Regions from separate parts of the Homo sapiens genome. Here region 1 is linked to region 2. Evidence: promoter capture Hi-C in human tissues and cell types (Jung and others, 2019). All regions are on one chromosome and are shown on one strand. Each heading gives the region's core, a stretch centred on a gene start or on the middle of the fragment in contact. The rest is flanking DNA. Distances are from core to core; before and after follow the strand shown. Region 1 has its middle 34 kb from the start of HPYR1. Region 2 holds the start of KCNQ3 (potassium voltage-gated channel subfamily Q member 3).

What was found. The method cuts DNA at HindIII sites, captures the fragments that hold promoters and counts their contacts. A contact is called where the count stands out against the background at its distance.
Region 1: a fragment that was not itself captured here is called in contact with the fragment with the promoter of KCNQ3 in region 2 in 2 of the 25 tissues and cell types used here (H1 embryonic stem cells and spleen).

Annotation. Positions count from the first base shown.
Region 1 is chr8:132,524,293-132,531,283 of GRCh38, forward strand. No RefSeq gene overlaps it. Among named protein-coding and RNA genes, the nearest start is that of HPYR1, 34 kb to the right of the region's middle. The HindIII fragment of the contact is 6,947 bases long and covers 920-6,991 here.
Region 2 is chr8:132,479,602-132,486,647 of GRCh38, forward strand. It overlaps KCNQ3 (potassium voltage-gated channel subfamily Q member 3), which reads right to left and starts at 1,494. Exons shown (of 15, transcript NM_004519.4): 1 at 546-1,494. The coding sequence starts at 931. The HindIII fragment of the contact is 18,452 bases long and covers 1-7,046 here.

The DNA.
Region 1 (6,991 bases), core at 3,143-5,642, 48 kb after region 2:
AAAATAATGTTAAGATTAAAGATAGCCTCAGTTCAACCAGAAGAAAGATAGCTTGGATAAGTTGGTAGGGGAAAGGGAATTGGACATCATTGGGAAGGACTTTCCCTATGGGGGATTCAGGGTTTTGTTTATGCTCGATTTTTATTTTCCTGTGTCACTGTTCCTGTGTGTTTTCTTTCCCACTGGTTTTCATATTTGCTACTTTAACAATTTCATGGCCCAGGTACATAAACTTCACACATTGCCTCTGTGCCTGGAACTTCCCTTTTCTGTGTCGTGGTGGCAAGGTTTCCACCTGGATGCCCCGCAAGCATAGCATGCTCACAGAAAACTAACCTTCCGTCCACCCCATCTTCTGCTCCTTGCTTCCAGGTTCACCATCTGCCCAATCTCCCAAGGTGTGAATGAAGAGCCATCCTTGGCTCCTACTCACACCCTCCTGTTAGCTGCCACTTCCGTCATCTGATTCTATGGGTTCTATGCACACTTTCTGTGCCCTCCGCCTCCTCTTCATCCCTCCAGCTTTATTCCTGCTCAGGTTCCTATTCTACCACTTGGACTTCTACAACAGTTTTCTTTCGCCTCTCTGCATCCAAGGAGAGGGTATTTAATGACCAGTCGTTTGACTTTGGTAAATGCATTTTCTACCTAAGAAAATCATGGTTTTCCAAGAAGCAGGTGCTGACAAAAAGATTCATGTGCAGATGATGTGTGTGGACATGTTTCCAGGAGAACCTGGAAAGGGAGCAGGGGAAGCACTGCTTGGAAAGAAGTCAAGTAGGGGTGAAATTTCATGCCAGGTCTCCAGCCAAATCCTGCAGGAAACTCTGGAGTTTGTACCAACTCAAGCGAGAAAGCTGGGTGTTCATATTCCTGCATCAGTCAGTCCTTGGCTAAGAACCACCCCAGGGAGACCAAACTCAGAGCTACTTCCTGCTCACTGCAGGTGGCTTCAGTAGCCTAGGGCAGAGAACTTCAGGTAATGGCTGAAGGCAGCAAAGGCACAACACACCCAGAAATCAGGCAGGGGCTCATAGAAGCAGGACAGGGGATCTCAGGGGATCTGTGTGGAGCACCAAAAAGTCTGCTGTAGAAATTTTCCAGTTTTAAAGATAGGAGAGAACTAACATTTTTTGAGTACATTCTGTATTCACAACCACTCTGCAAGTGGACATCATTTTCCTCATATTATTTGAATGGGACAAAAATAATATCACCTTAACTAGCTTCTCCAGAATTTTTCAAATGGAAGAAATATTCCTCAGTAAGGTTATCTAAAGATTTGGATGTCCAAAGAACAAAGAGATTAAGTCATTTTGCATAGAAAATAAGCCAAATGCACTCACTTATTCATGAGAAGGAGAAGAGAAATAAGGGAAGAATGGGGAGTGAGTCAGGCAAGTGGTGAAGGATAGGGAACAGCATAGGGTGGCATTGCCAGAGTAATCCCCAGTGATGGGATGACCAAAAGGACTCTAGAAAGTAAAATGTCACACACGCTAATGACCAATGAGGTGCCTGGCGACACAGATAAAGCCAGGGACAAAGCCAGCAGAAAACTGTGTTTTCCCCAAAGTCAACTGCCGCTCAAAATTACTAACAACCCTTTTTTTTGAGTGATTGCTAGTTTGTTGCAAATGACTTCCCCAGCCCTCTCTATTTCTCTCACCCCTAAACGAAGAGAAACTCAGTTACCAAACTGCACCAGTTTAATGGCAGTCCCCAGTCTGGAACCAATCCTTGCTTCTTCTTCATCCCTCTCCATTCCTCCTTACAATCCTTCAGCACAAGCCCAAACCCTAAGAAAAAGAACTTCCCACTCCAGCCTAAAGAGGTGCCCCCAGGTTTCTCTGGTCTGTGGTTTCCCTTGCTGCAGCAAGTTAATAAGGCCAACTTTGATAGTTTCAGGTACATTTATGATGGTCTGTGTCTACGGGTTCTTTGCTAGACTTTTCACACCTAATACATTTTGTTTGGTTGGTTGGTTGGTTTTGTTGTTTTGTTTTGAGACAGAGTCTCGCTCTGTCGCCCAGGCTGGTATGCAGTGGTGTGATCACAACTCACCGAAGCCTCGACCTCCATGGCTCAAGCGATCCTCCTGCAGTGGCACCCTGAGTAGCTGGAACACAGATGTACACCACTATGCCCAGCTACTTTAATGATTTATTTATTATTTTAGAGATGGGGTCTCCCTATGTTGCTCAGGCTGGTCCCGAACCGCTGGACTCAAGCTATCCTCCTACACTCCCTCTCAGTGTTGGGATTACAGGCATGAGCCACCACACAGGTGTATTAGCCCAGGGCTAATACATGGTTTTAAGGTGCCATGCAATGTGGTAAGTGATGCTTCCTCCCTCTTTGTAACTCCTTAAAGCTTTGAGTGAGGGGTTTGTAGGTGGTTGAGTTTCACCCCAGGATCAACATAGCATGGTATAGAACAAGACAGAGTAAGAAGCCCAGTGATCACAGTAACAAGGGAATTTAAACTATTCAAACTGTTGCATGGGTTTCTGATTTCCATGGACCATGTGATTGTGATGGGGGTGGGTATCAAATCAATCTTATGGGAGGAGATCCTGCTGCTAATCTTCTGACACTTATTGTCTTCCGCCTCCTTTTAGCATCTCCCCTGAGTTTATTGGACCCATGGCTAACCAGCTAGAGGTTATATTTTCAATCCTCCCATGAATCTAAATGTGTCCATAAGCCTTGGTCTGGCCAAGGGGATAGAAGCACAAGAAATCTGCATAAGTTTCAGGTCAAGTCTTTAAGATGGAAGGCTCGTTGCCTTCATTACCTCTTTTTGCTTCTGTCCCACAGGCTGCAACATGCAACTGGTGTAGGTGAGTCAGCTTCGACCAGGGGGACAAAAGCAACAACCTGGAGAATGCTGGAGGATCCAAACAGAAGGGTTTGGTTTCCTCCCCATCCTGGCGGAGCATCCTCCTCTGCCCGTTCATCCCCTGCTATCCACCTTCCTCAGTGCATTTTGCGTGTAAGAAAGGGAGAAATTAACTTTAAAAAAACGTTTCTGAGTTTGCTTATCTCTTTCTCAGAGCATCTTAGCTTATGCTCTATTCAACAAATCTAGATCTGAAAGGATTTGGAGACCTGAGCTCATAACTAGGCTGTGTTACAGGCCCAGAGAAGCTAGATAATTTGTGCAAAATCATTTAACTCATGTGACCGAACCCCCAGGCAGGCACCTCTGTCCCCAGTCTGTTTCTGAATAGTCTCCAGGAGTCATGTTCTCCTTCAGATTCTCATTTTCTCTCTCTCTCTCTCTCTCTCTCTCTCTCCCTCTCTCACACAGAGGCATTTGGACTTCTTTGCCATCCCCACATCCTCCACTAAAAGCATCAGCTCCAGAATTCAGACATGTCCATGATGTGTTCATGCAGAGTCCTCAACTCAGTGTGGCTTGTGAAAGAAGCTCTGTGGGGATCGCCCTGGCTTCCCTGGAAATACTAGGATCACTGAGATGGCAGGTTCCACTGAGATATTACACTCAGTTGCCTATAAAAACGTCACTCTTAAAACAGAAGTAGAAAATGTCACACTTTCAAGTCATAAACCTAGTTTTAAAATATAAGAAAGAAAAAAAAAGACAAAGAAGCTCCAGCCCCCCACAACGGAGCTCTGCACCTCTGTGAATGTGTGAGACCAAGGCATTGTCTTTGGGGCAGGATGAGGACACTTGAAGAAATGTCTCACGATGGGGAAGTTAAGTGGAAAATACAGGCTTCAATGGTTTAACAACAATCCCCTTTTCTGGCATATGGAGCTGGGCACTAAAAAGCACTCCATCCCTCTTAAGCTAGTGGACAGAGAGCCACACTTGTCCCCACTTCCAACCTTCCTCTAGCACCACGACGAACTGGATCTCTGGTGACTGTATGTGATTGTTTTCTCTAGGAGGATGCTACAGACCAAATAATCACTTTCATCACTTTGAAGTTATGCAGCTTCTATGTTCTATGGTCATTTCCCCCAGGATAGAGGAGAGTGTTATATGGGGTTATTATGAAAACCCTTTATTTGGGTGGTAGGATTGGGATCCTGTTTTCAAGAAGTGAGCTCCTCCAAGAATGAGGCACCAAGCTGTGCAGACCCATCTTTGACATTTCTTCCTCACATCCTCTTACAGGGTGGCCTGACAGGGTAGGCAGAGCTTGAGCTTGCATCTTATAACACCAGGGTTTAATTCTAAGCTCCTGCTAGCTAACTCAGTGACCATAGATAAATCAGTTGACCTCCTTAGCCTCAGCTTACACATCAGTAAATTGAGTATAATATAGTCCAGGGTCATTGAGAAAATCAGAAGCAAAACTAGTCATAGCCGACATTTACAAAGTGCTCCCTATTTGCCAGGCACAATTCTATTATTTACAGGAGATCTTTCCTTTCTTCCTCATAGCAAATCTAGAAGGTGGTGTCATCATTCTCTGTGGTGCAGATGAAGAAGCAGAGCTTCCAAGGGGTGGAGAAGAAGCTGAAGTGTAGGAAGATTAAGTAATTTCCTAGTGGCCCCCTTGGTCCATGTATCCCTGGCAATCTACCTCAGGAATCTACATTTTTGCCCCCTACGCTCTAGCCACTTGCCTTGCTGATGTCTGTCCTGTGTCTGCCACATTGTCCTTGAGTCTCTGTACAGACCAGATGTCGTTTCCTTCATTAGACACAGGAGGACACTGACACCCAGAGCCGCCTGCCAGGCTCACCCAGTGATAAGTGGCCAATAAGAATCAGTGCCCAGGTATTTCCAAAGCACTTTTCTGTCTATTATTTCTTTTGCCAAAGCCCCACAAGGCAGGTACTGTTATCTCCAACTTAGATAAAACACTTGGAGTACAGAGAGGCCAAATGACTTCCCCAAGGTCTCATAGCCAAGTGGTAGCAAAGTCACAATGCAACCCCCAGTCACCTGACCCTGTCCTAGGACATGGCAGGAAGCACAGGGTATGTCCCAAAGGACAATGCTGTTGTCAGTAAAATCACACACCGATGGAGAGGGTGGACAGGTGTCTCCCTTTATTGTCTCCTGGAAACACTACAAAACACTCCTTTCTGGTGTAGGGAAGTATATCTGGTTAAGCAAGAATTAAGTACTAGGGGTGGCATTACGTATGTGCATGTGAAAGGGGGTGGTCATGCCTGCCTTAGAGAGACAAGGGGCATGTGGAGTAGGGGAGGACAGAATCACATAGAGGACCCCTAGGGAGAGAAAGAGAAAGACAGAGAGAGAGAAATCAGCCTCTCACTATGGGCTCAGAAAGGACCAGAAGACAGCCACTTGTGGGGTGTGTGTGTTTGTGTGTGTGTTTCATGGTCAGAAGGAGGTGCACAGAGTTTATGCTCAAGTCTCATTAGATTTCTAAGCACCTACATAAAATTTATTCATTTCCCTGGAATGATAATTTACTTATTTGCCTCCCCAACCACCCTATTATCTCTGTGATGACAGAGGCTCTGTTTATTTATCTTTGCAGTATTTATTCTCCTAGAGATATTTGCATTTAAAGGAAAGGAAACCCCCAAAGATGCATTTATTTCAAGAACAACTTCTAATAACATCAGTGTTTTGCTTCTTAAAACATACCTAAGGCTTTATCATGTAGAGAGTTGGCCAAAATGTACCTAATAAGACTGAATGCCTGGGGGACATGCAAAGTAGGCCACTGGTGAGGCAAAAGAGCCATGGTCAGAGAAGAAGTTAGGAAGTTCATTCTGAGAATAAGAGGAGGAGGCGTTAGCCTTACTTATGAGCATGCTGACTACACAGAAAATGCTTAAACAGAACATACATTCTGCTTCCATAAGTTTGGTCAAAACCACCTTGAATGTCAGCTGAAAACTGATGTGAGAGAATGTAAATTGCCTGCCTGTGCTGGTCCTATCCTCCCAGTATCACCAAACTGGACATGCATCCATCCAACCAGTACAGCAGAGCCAAATGCTGGCACTGGGATTTGCAGCAAGAGAAAGTGAGGCATTTATTGCAGGGCGCCAAGCAAGGAGAATCAGGGAGTTCATGCTTAAGACCCAAACTACCCAATGGCCTACATGTAATGGTTTTTTTTATTATTTTTTTAGTTGGAGTCTCACTCTATTGCCCAGGCTGGAGTGCAGTGGCATGATTTCAGCTCCCTGCAACCTCCGCTTCCTGGGTTCAAGTGATTCTCCTACCTCAGCCTTCCAAGTAGCTGGAATTACATGTGCACGCCACCACACCCAGCTAATTTTTGTATTTTTAGTAGAGATGGGGTTTCACCATATTAGCTGGGCCGGTCTCAAACTCCTGACCTCAGGTGATCCACCCACCTTGGCCTCCCAAAGTGCTGGATTACAGGCGTGAGCCACCACGCCCAGCCAGGGTTTTTAAAGGCAGGGAGGCAAAGTCGTAAATTAATACATGGAGGCTATCCATTACTTTTACCTAAAAAGGTGGGACATCTCAAAGGGGATGGGGCCCGCAGGTTACGGGTGGATTAAAAGAATTTGATTTGTGTTTAGTTAAACTTTGTCTAAAAACTTAGCATCAGCAGAAAGGAATGTCTCTTTCACCCATTCCTTTGGGTATGACTTCCTCCACGCCCCCAGGAAGATATTTAGAACAAAGACTGAAATTTACAACAAAAAATTTAGTCAACGTTCAATTCTCCATTTCCCTTTATCTGAGGTCTACATGCCAGTGGATGATATTTTCCATTTAGTAGGGGTCTGAGTTTCTGAAAAGTAACTCAGGGACATATGTTAAGATTTTATCTTCAGTTTCTATAGGAAACCAAGCATTTTGTGGCTCTAATATCTTTAGCTATTGTTGTAAGCTACTATTACTTCCTGCTTATTAGGTTGCTAATTTACTTCTCAAGGCTAGCTGGGTGCCTGAAATTTCCCCTGAAGGAACTCAAGATTTTCTTTTTTCTCCATGCCTGGGGGACCACGCAGGCCACTAAGAGGTGCCCCTGCTCTGTATCATCAGCTATCTTAC
Region 2 (7,046 bases), core at 244-2,743:
CGATCAGAAGGGTGGCACAAGCAAGCGACACACACACACACACACACACACACACGCTCCCCACTATGGGTGGTGCGCACCCCTCCCATCCCCAACTAAACTCAGTGGCGATCCCAACAGAAGGGATCCACCCGAAACAGAAACACAGAGCTCACGGGAGGACCCGCTTTATCCTCTTCAACCCTCACATTAATTGGAAAAACCCACATAATTATTTTAAGCTTCCAAACCAACACCCCTAGAAGATGTCATAAATGTGCACCCGCGCGCGCACACATCCGCCCAAATCAGCAGGGGAACCACGCTTCGTTTTTTAAGCCCCTAGTGTGGAACACCCGGAGAGCGGCAACACACACACACACACACACACACACACACACACACACACACACCCAGGGAAACGCGTGCTGAGGACGGGCTGGTCTCCCCTTCAGCGGGAAAGCATCCATGGGTCTTAAAGCCCCAGAGACTTCTCAGCTCCAGCCCCGACCCCAAGTCCCCAAGCGCGCCGCCGCCGAGGGCGCCCCGAGCGGCCGGGTACTCACACCAACGCGTGGTAAAGCAGCGCCCAGCCCCGCGGTCTCTCCAGGGCGTCGTAGATCAAAGTTTGGATGCGCCGGTACTTGGCGTTGTTTCTCTTGACTGGGCGGCTCAGCGGGGTCTTGGCCAGGAGCCCGATGCCCTGCGGGGTCCTCCGCTGCCCCTCGTCGCGGCCGCCGCCCTCCAGCAGCAGGGTCCCGTCTTTGTCGGCTCCGGCCCCGAGCGCCAAGGTGACTTGCTCCACGTCGCCGGGCGCCAGCCCCACTTTCCGCTCCTCGTCGCCGGCCGCCGCCGCGTCCCCTCCGGCTGGGTTAGCCGCCCCGCCGCCTCCGCCGCCCCCGTCGCCGCCGCCGCCAGCCGCCCCCGCCGCCCTGCGCGCCTTGAGCCCCATCTGCCTCGCCCCCGCCGGCCGCTTCGCCTTCTCCGCTGCTGCTCTGGGAAGAAGGGGCGCTCGGGGTGCGTGAACGAGGCGGCGGCGGCGGCTGCAAGCCCGGGAACTCCAATGCCATGATCCGCGCGCCCCTCCCCACCCCCCCCCAAAAGCAGGCAAAGGCGGGCCCCCTGGGGGGCAGGGGAGGCCAGGCAGGGGGTCAGGGGGTCACATCCCGCGCGGGTCAGCCGCAGGACCCCGAGGGTCGCGGGCCGGGGGCTGCGGAGAAGCTGGGAGGGCGCGCGAGGCTGGCGCGGAGGCGCTAGGGCGCGCGGCGGCGGGAGCCTGGAACCGGCGCTCCGGGGCGGCGGCGGCGGCGGCGGCACCCAGGCCGGCGAGCCCAAGACAGCATCGCAGTTTATTTACAAGCCCGGTGCCAGCCGCCCTCCCGCCCGCCAGCCACACGCGCCGCCGCCGCCGCCTCCTCCCTCCTCCGCGCTCCCACCCGCGCCCCTCCCCGCCCGTTCCAGCCTCAGCCTGTCAGCAGCAGCAGCAGCGAGCGCGCCGCGGGCCGAGAGCACGCCGCGTCCCTCCCTCCCTCCTTCCCCGGGGTGGGGCCCCATTGTCCCGCCCCGTCGCGGCGGGAGGCCCGGGCGGCGGCGCCCCGCCTCTTCCCGCCGACCCCCACCGCTGATTGTCTGGGGACCCAGGATCGCCTGGGCTACCGCCGCCCCCGTTGCAACCAGGCAGTGCGCCAGGCGGCTGCAGAGCCCGGCTCCTGGAGCTCCCGTGGGCGTTGGGGCTTCCCCTGGATGGGGCGTGACGGCGGGCAGTTGGGGGAAGAAGAGGAAGGGAGGAGGGACTGGGGGGTTGTCGCCCACCAAACATTGGCTCTGTGGTTGCAGCTTTGTGAATTTCCCTCACCCCCTACCCCTGCTCCTCGGCTTCAGAGGTAAAAGCCAAGTTGTCGGGTTGGTCAAGGCCGGGCGCACCGCGAACGCACCTGCTCTGTGGTAGCGAAGCTCGTGACTCCCTCTTCCCTCTTCCCTCTTCCCTCTTCCCTCTAGTTCGTGGTTCATGGTGGATGCCGCGGCCCTCTCCTCCCCCAATCTTTGAATAGCACCTTCACCTGTCTGGGTGGGCAAAGGACTGAAGAAATGCAGTCAGAATCTTTGATTCCTGCTTTGCTCCCGACTTGCACCCAAGCCAGTCATTCCCTCTCTGGTCCAAATTTCAATTCAATCAACCAATCTGTAACCCCTCGTGAGCTTCCCTGGCAAAGGGTAGTGATCTCTGTCCTGAAGATATGAGGTCTCTGCACTCCTAAGACCTCCGTCCTAGCCGGTGGAAGACAATGAAAAGACAAATTTTAACAGTAGAATTTCCGATATTGGTAAATAGTATGTGGTAACAAATTAGAGTGCTGCGCTATAGTGACTGGGGGAGTCACTCTAAACCGGCTGGTCGTGGAAGGCCTTATTGTGGAGGTGATGCTTCGAGGTGAGACCCTAATGACAAGCTGGGAGCAACTATGTAAATGTCCAGAGAGCCCTCCAAACAGCAGAACAGCGGGTGCGGAGGGGAAGGGTGGCTTGAGCTTAATGAGAGTAGGCCACAGGCAAAGGCTAGATCTTGTAAGACACTGACAAAGGACAGGAGCATCCTGCACTTCTTCCATGCCCACCGCCATCGGGGAAGCCTCCATTCCTGCTGCCCCATGGCATCTGTGGCCTCCTTTCCTTCCCACTCTCTCACCTCATGTCTGTCAGCTGGGGTGAGAGACATGGGGTGAGGGGAGACCCTGTGAACAAGGCCGAGGATCTATCCCTAGTGTATAAGAAAAGAGGAATCAGACCTGCAAGAACACCAGCTCTGGATTTGCCTGGAGAAGTTGGCCAAGGAGAGCATAGGAGACAGGGAAGGGAAGAAGGAAGGGAAGGGAGTAGGAATGTATGGGCTGGGGCAGGGGAAGGGTCAGAGAACCACCACCCTATAGAATGACTATCAAAGGGGAGAACCTCAAAAGAGGTCTCCAAATCAAGAAGGGAGGAGTTTCCAGAGGAAGTTAAACTGTAAGACTGAAATCATTAAAACAGTGTGGGATCGGTACAAAAATAAACTCTCAGTGCAACAGAATTCTTTGTCCAGAAACAGACTCTAGCATGGGAACTTAATATTAAACGGGAAGAGTTCATGACAAGAACCCCAGGGGAAAAGGCTGTTCACTGGTTGATGGGTTTTGTGAGGAATTATAGGAAATAGCATATGGAAACGTGGCAGTGCCCAGTAGGACCCCTGTACATCCGTGAATAGATAAATGCTCAGCAGTGAGTTGGAGTAAGTAACCAGTCCAGCAGGCTCTGGAAAGGAGAAAAAGCCCAAGGAAAGGGAATTGCTTGGATCAGAATATCTCCAAATGGGAGCTGGGCACTGCAAAGCCTCCTCCTGCCCATGTGTTAGCCCTGCCATGCCCAACACACCAAACTCACGTGTATTCTTCCTGTCCTACTCCCATCCCAACTAACCAGGAAACAATCTTGCCCTTTATCTCTGAGCACCTTTTCCAAAGTCGCTGTTCTCCCTCAGTCTCTTCCTGTTTTGTTCATTCATTACATTTATCACTGCCAAAAATGATCGCATTTACATTCTGTTTACTTGTTTACTGTTATCTTACTAAACAAGAGCAGGGACTAAGCATCCTAGTTTTGAATCCTGGAAGTGTGTCTGTCATATCACAGGCTCTCAATCTGTGTTGGCAGCATGAATAAATGATGAATAAGCGAATGAAGAGTGTAAAGCTCTCAGCACAATGCCTGGCACACAAGCATTCCATGTATGTTTGTGGGTGAGATTTTTGTTTGGTTTCGTTTTACCATTGTGAAAGTCTTCATACTTAGGAAGTCTTGCTGCTCCTTTATGCTCCTTGCAACTTAAGAAACATGATAAAAACATTTTGACAGTATTTAAAATAAAAAGGCTCACTAGATAAACATAAAAAGAAGACGAGTCAAGGAATGTGGAAAGAAGATGTGAGAATTTATTATTGTGCAATTAATCAAAAGTTCAGATTCCCAGAATGACAGTTTGGATCCTCAGATACATGAAAAGACTTCTATTTTGATGGGAGCTTCAGACTGTCAAGTATTACAATTTAAGATAAGGTGCAGGGGCTATTTGCATGCCTCCCATAAAAGATGAGGTTAAGTCAATAACAAATTCATAACTGAGCCAATTAAACCCAATGATAGGGAAACTGCCAGGTAGTTGAGTCTAGTAAATGGAGTTGCTTTGATGGTTTTATAATCCAATGGCAAGCAGTGTTTAGGCTTCTAATAGGGGCTTTGGAAATGTCATCAAAAGCAGGGTGTGCACTGAGTGTCATTGGAGGAACTGTGTAATCACAGCGCTCCACAGCACAGGTTTCAGCTAAAGAAAATCAAACATCCTATATCCCACTGGAAGGAAACTTCTCAGAGGCCTAAAGTCCCTAAGAGCCTCAGGTTCCAGCTGAACATGGCACCAAAGCAAAGAGTTAGCGACACACTATCAACAAGGACAACAATGAGGCATTCCTCTCCTGGCTTTGAGCCCCAGCTCAAAGTGTAACATTGAAAACCCACCCACCTGCTTCCCCTCCTCCATGCCTTAGCTTTCATTTTTGCTTTTCTCTTTAGCTGGTCTTCATCTCAATGTATAGGCGAGATGTTCAGGTAAACTCTCTCTCCCTTGCAGGTGAGGCACTTCCTGGGAATGAGTAAAAAGAGAGAGACAAAGGGCTTTCTCTGAGCCTACATTTCTGCCTCTGTAAATCCAGGGTTGTAAGCATCTCATGATGAGGTGATATTCCAGTGATGGTTATTATGACTGTCATTGAATGAGTAGGACAGTCTCAGGTTCACAGGCATATGCAAATGGTGGTCCTGCCTGCCCCTCTCACTCTGTTCCCTAAACACATTAAATAATTGCTTTAGGCCAATTTTAAATTTACTTTTATTATTTGTTACACAAGAAATGCAAAGTAGTTGTTAGGAAATTATGAAATGTAAATCAGCCAGAAGGCAACAGTAATCATCTTGTTACCCAGAAACACCCTCTGTGAATATTCTGATCATGACTACTGCCAACAGGACTGAAGCATGCCTGACCTGCAAGCAATGGAGATGCTCAGCCCCCAGTGGGGCACCTTCCCTAGGGGACCAGTCAGCCACTTGGTGGCAAGTTGATTACACTGGACCTTCCAAACATGGGCGGGGGCGGACATATGCCATTACTGGAATAGACACGTATCCTGGGTACAGAATTGCCTCTCCAGTCCTCAATGATTCTGCCAACAACACCATCCATGCATTTAGGAATGCCTCATTCACCGTCAAAGAATTCCACATGAAACTACTTCTGATGAAATCATTTGTCCCCTAAATGCTTACTCTGGACCTGGGTATAAATCTACCTCTCAGAGGAGCCAGTGAGACAGATCTTTGTAGCCAAAAAGAGCACTCTTTGCTTGTTTGGAGGAGACACGACAAGCTCTAATTCTGGGTCTAGGAACAACCCGGGCCAAAAGGAAATATGTTTGGGAACAATGGATCCCATTACTACCCTATATGCGTTTTTTATTCTTGAAAACCCAATCTCAGCAAATCCTCAAATTTACTGCCCCCTCTTCTCTTCCTCCAGGTCTTCTTTTTGTCTTTCCCTTTCCTAGACTTCATATCACTGTACACTAGGACAGAGGAACTCTTGTTCCCTTACAGGTGAGAAGCCTTCCTGGGAAGGAACGAGAAGAAGCTAAGGAACACCCTTGTACATGTCACTCAGCAGAGGAGGGCAGAATAGAGTTCAGCATTTAGATCGTCCTGGCTCTGTGACTTTGCACTTAGTGACCTGAAAAAAGTTGCCAGACTTATTTCTAGCCTGCTTCCTCAGCTGTTCAATGGGACAATGTTTCTTATCCTCCCTGCCTTAGACTTGGTCTGAGTATCATTCCTCCCAGGATCCACGTTAAGGTAGGGCTTTGCAGCCTGTGATGTACTGTGCACATTGACTACATTACTGAAAGGCATCTGACACAGCATCGTGGAAGGCACTCAAGTCAGGCATGATGGGGAATGAATGAGCTCCAAGCCAAACGGCGCTCACCTTCTCTCCAGATGGGAATGATTAAGGGGCTTAACTTAGATTGTTCTCAGTTGGAAAAGTGTTTCTTTTCCTGCCTCACATTTGCAATTTTTACATTAACCTTCAAATTAATTTTGCATGTTTCTTAATGTCACTTTTGTCTTTTTCTTTTAAATAATTATGTTGGGTAAAATATCCAATTTATCTACTTAACGAATTCATTCATTCATCCTTCCAGTGAGCATTCACCAATTGCCTGTTTTATGTGTTGCTCTCCATCAATGAAAAACAGAAGAAAAAAAATTAATTCTATATTTAGTTCCAAAGATGAGCTAATAAAATGCAAAACAATTTACTCATCTTTCTACGGTCATTGCTGTCAATGACCTGGCTCGTGATGGATGCTTATTATCATAATAACATTTATCGTGTGCTTCCTCTACACTTGGCACTGGGCTGACTGCTATATATAGATTATCTCATTTAATCCTCACAACAAAGTTATGAAATAGGCATTATGGCTATTGCTTTTCATATCAACCATGATGAAAATTATACTTAGGTTAAATACTGCACCCAAGTTTACATGATTAAGAAATGACAGCCCCAGGATTCAAGCTCAGGTGATCTAACTTTGGAACCTATACATTTAACCACTACAATGTATTATTTCCTGAGAACGCTATTCCAGGTGGCAGGTTCAGTGTAGGCAAAGGCTTGGAGGCAAGACAGAGAGTGGAGTTTCCAGGGAAAGTGGTTGTGATGGTTGGAGGCAAGCGTGGATGGAGCAGAGGCCACATGGGGAAGGCTTTCATATATATACCAGGCTTATGGACTTGGGGGTCATGAGTTACTTTAAGCGTAAACTGACCTAATCCCAGGTGGTTCCACAAAGGGCTTTCTGACAACTCTGTGGAGGAGAGGTTGGAAGTGAGAAAAATCAATTCAATCAGAGCAAGTACAAGGCAGAGCCCAGCTGAGAGGTGTTGAGGCAGATCTTGGAGAGGAGGGGCTGGCT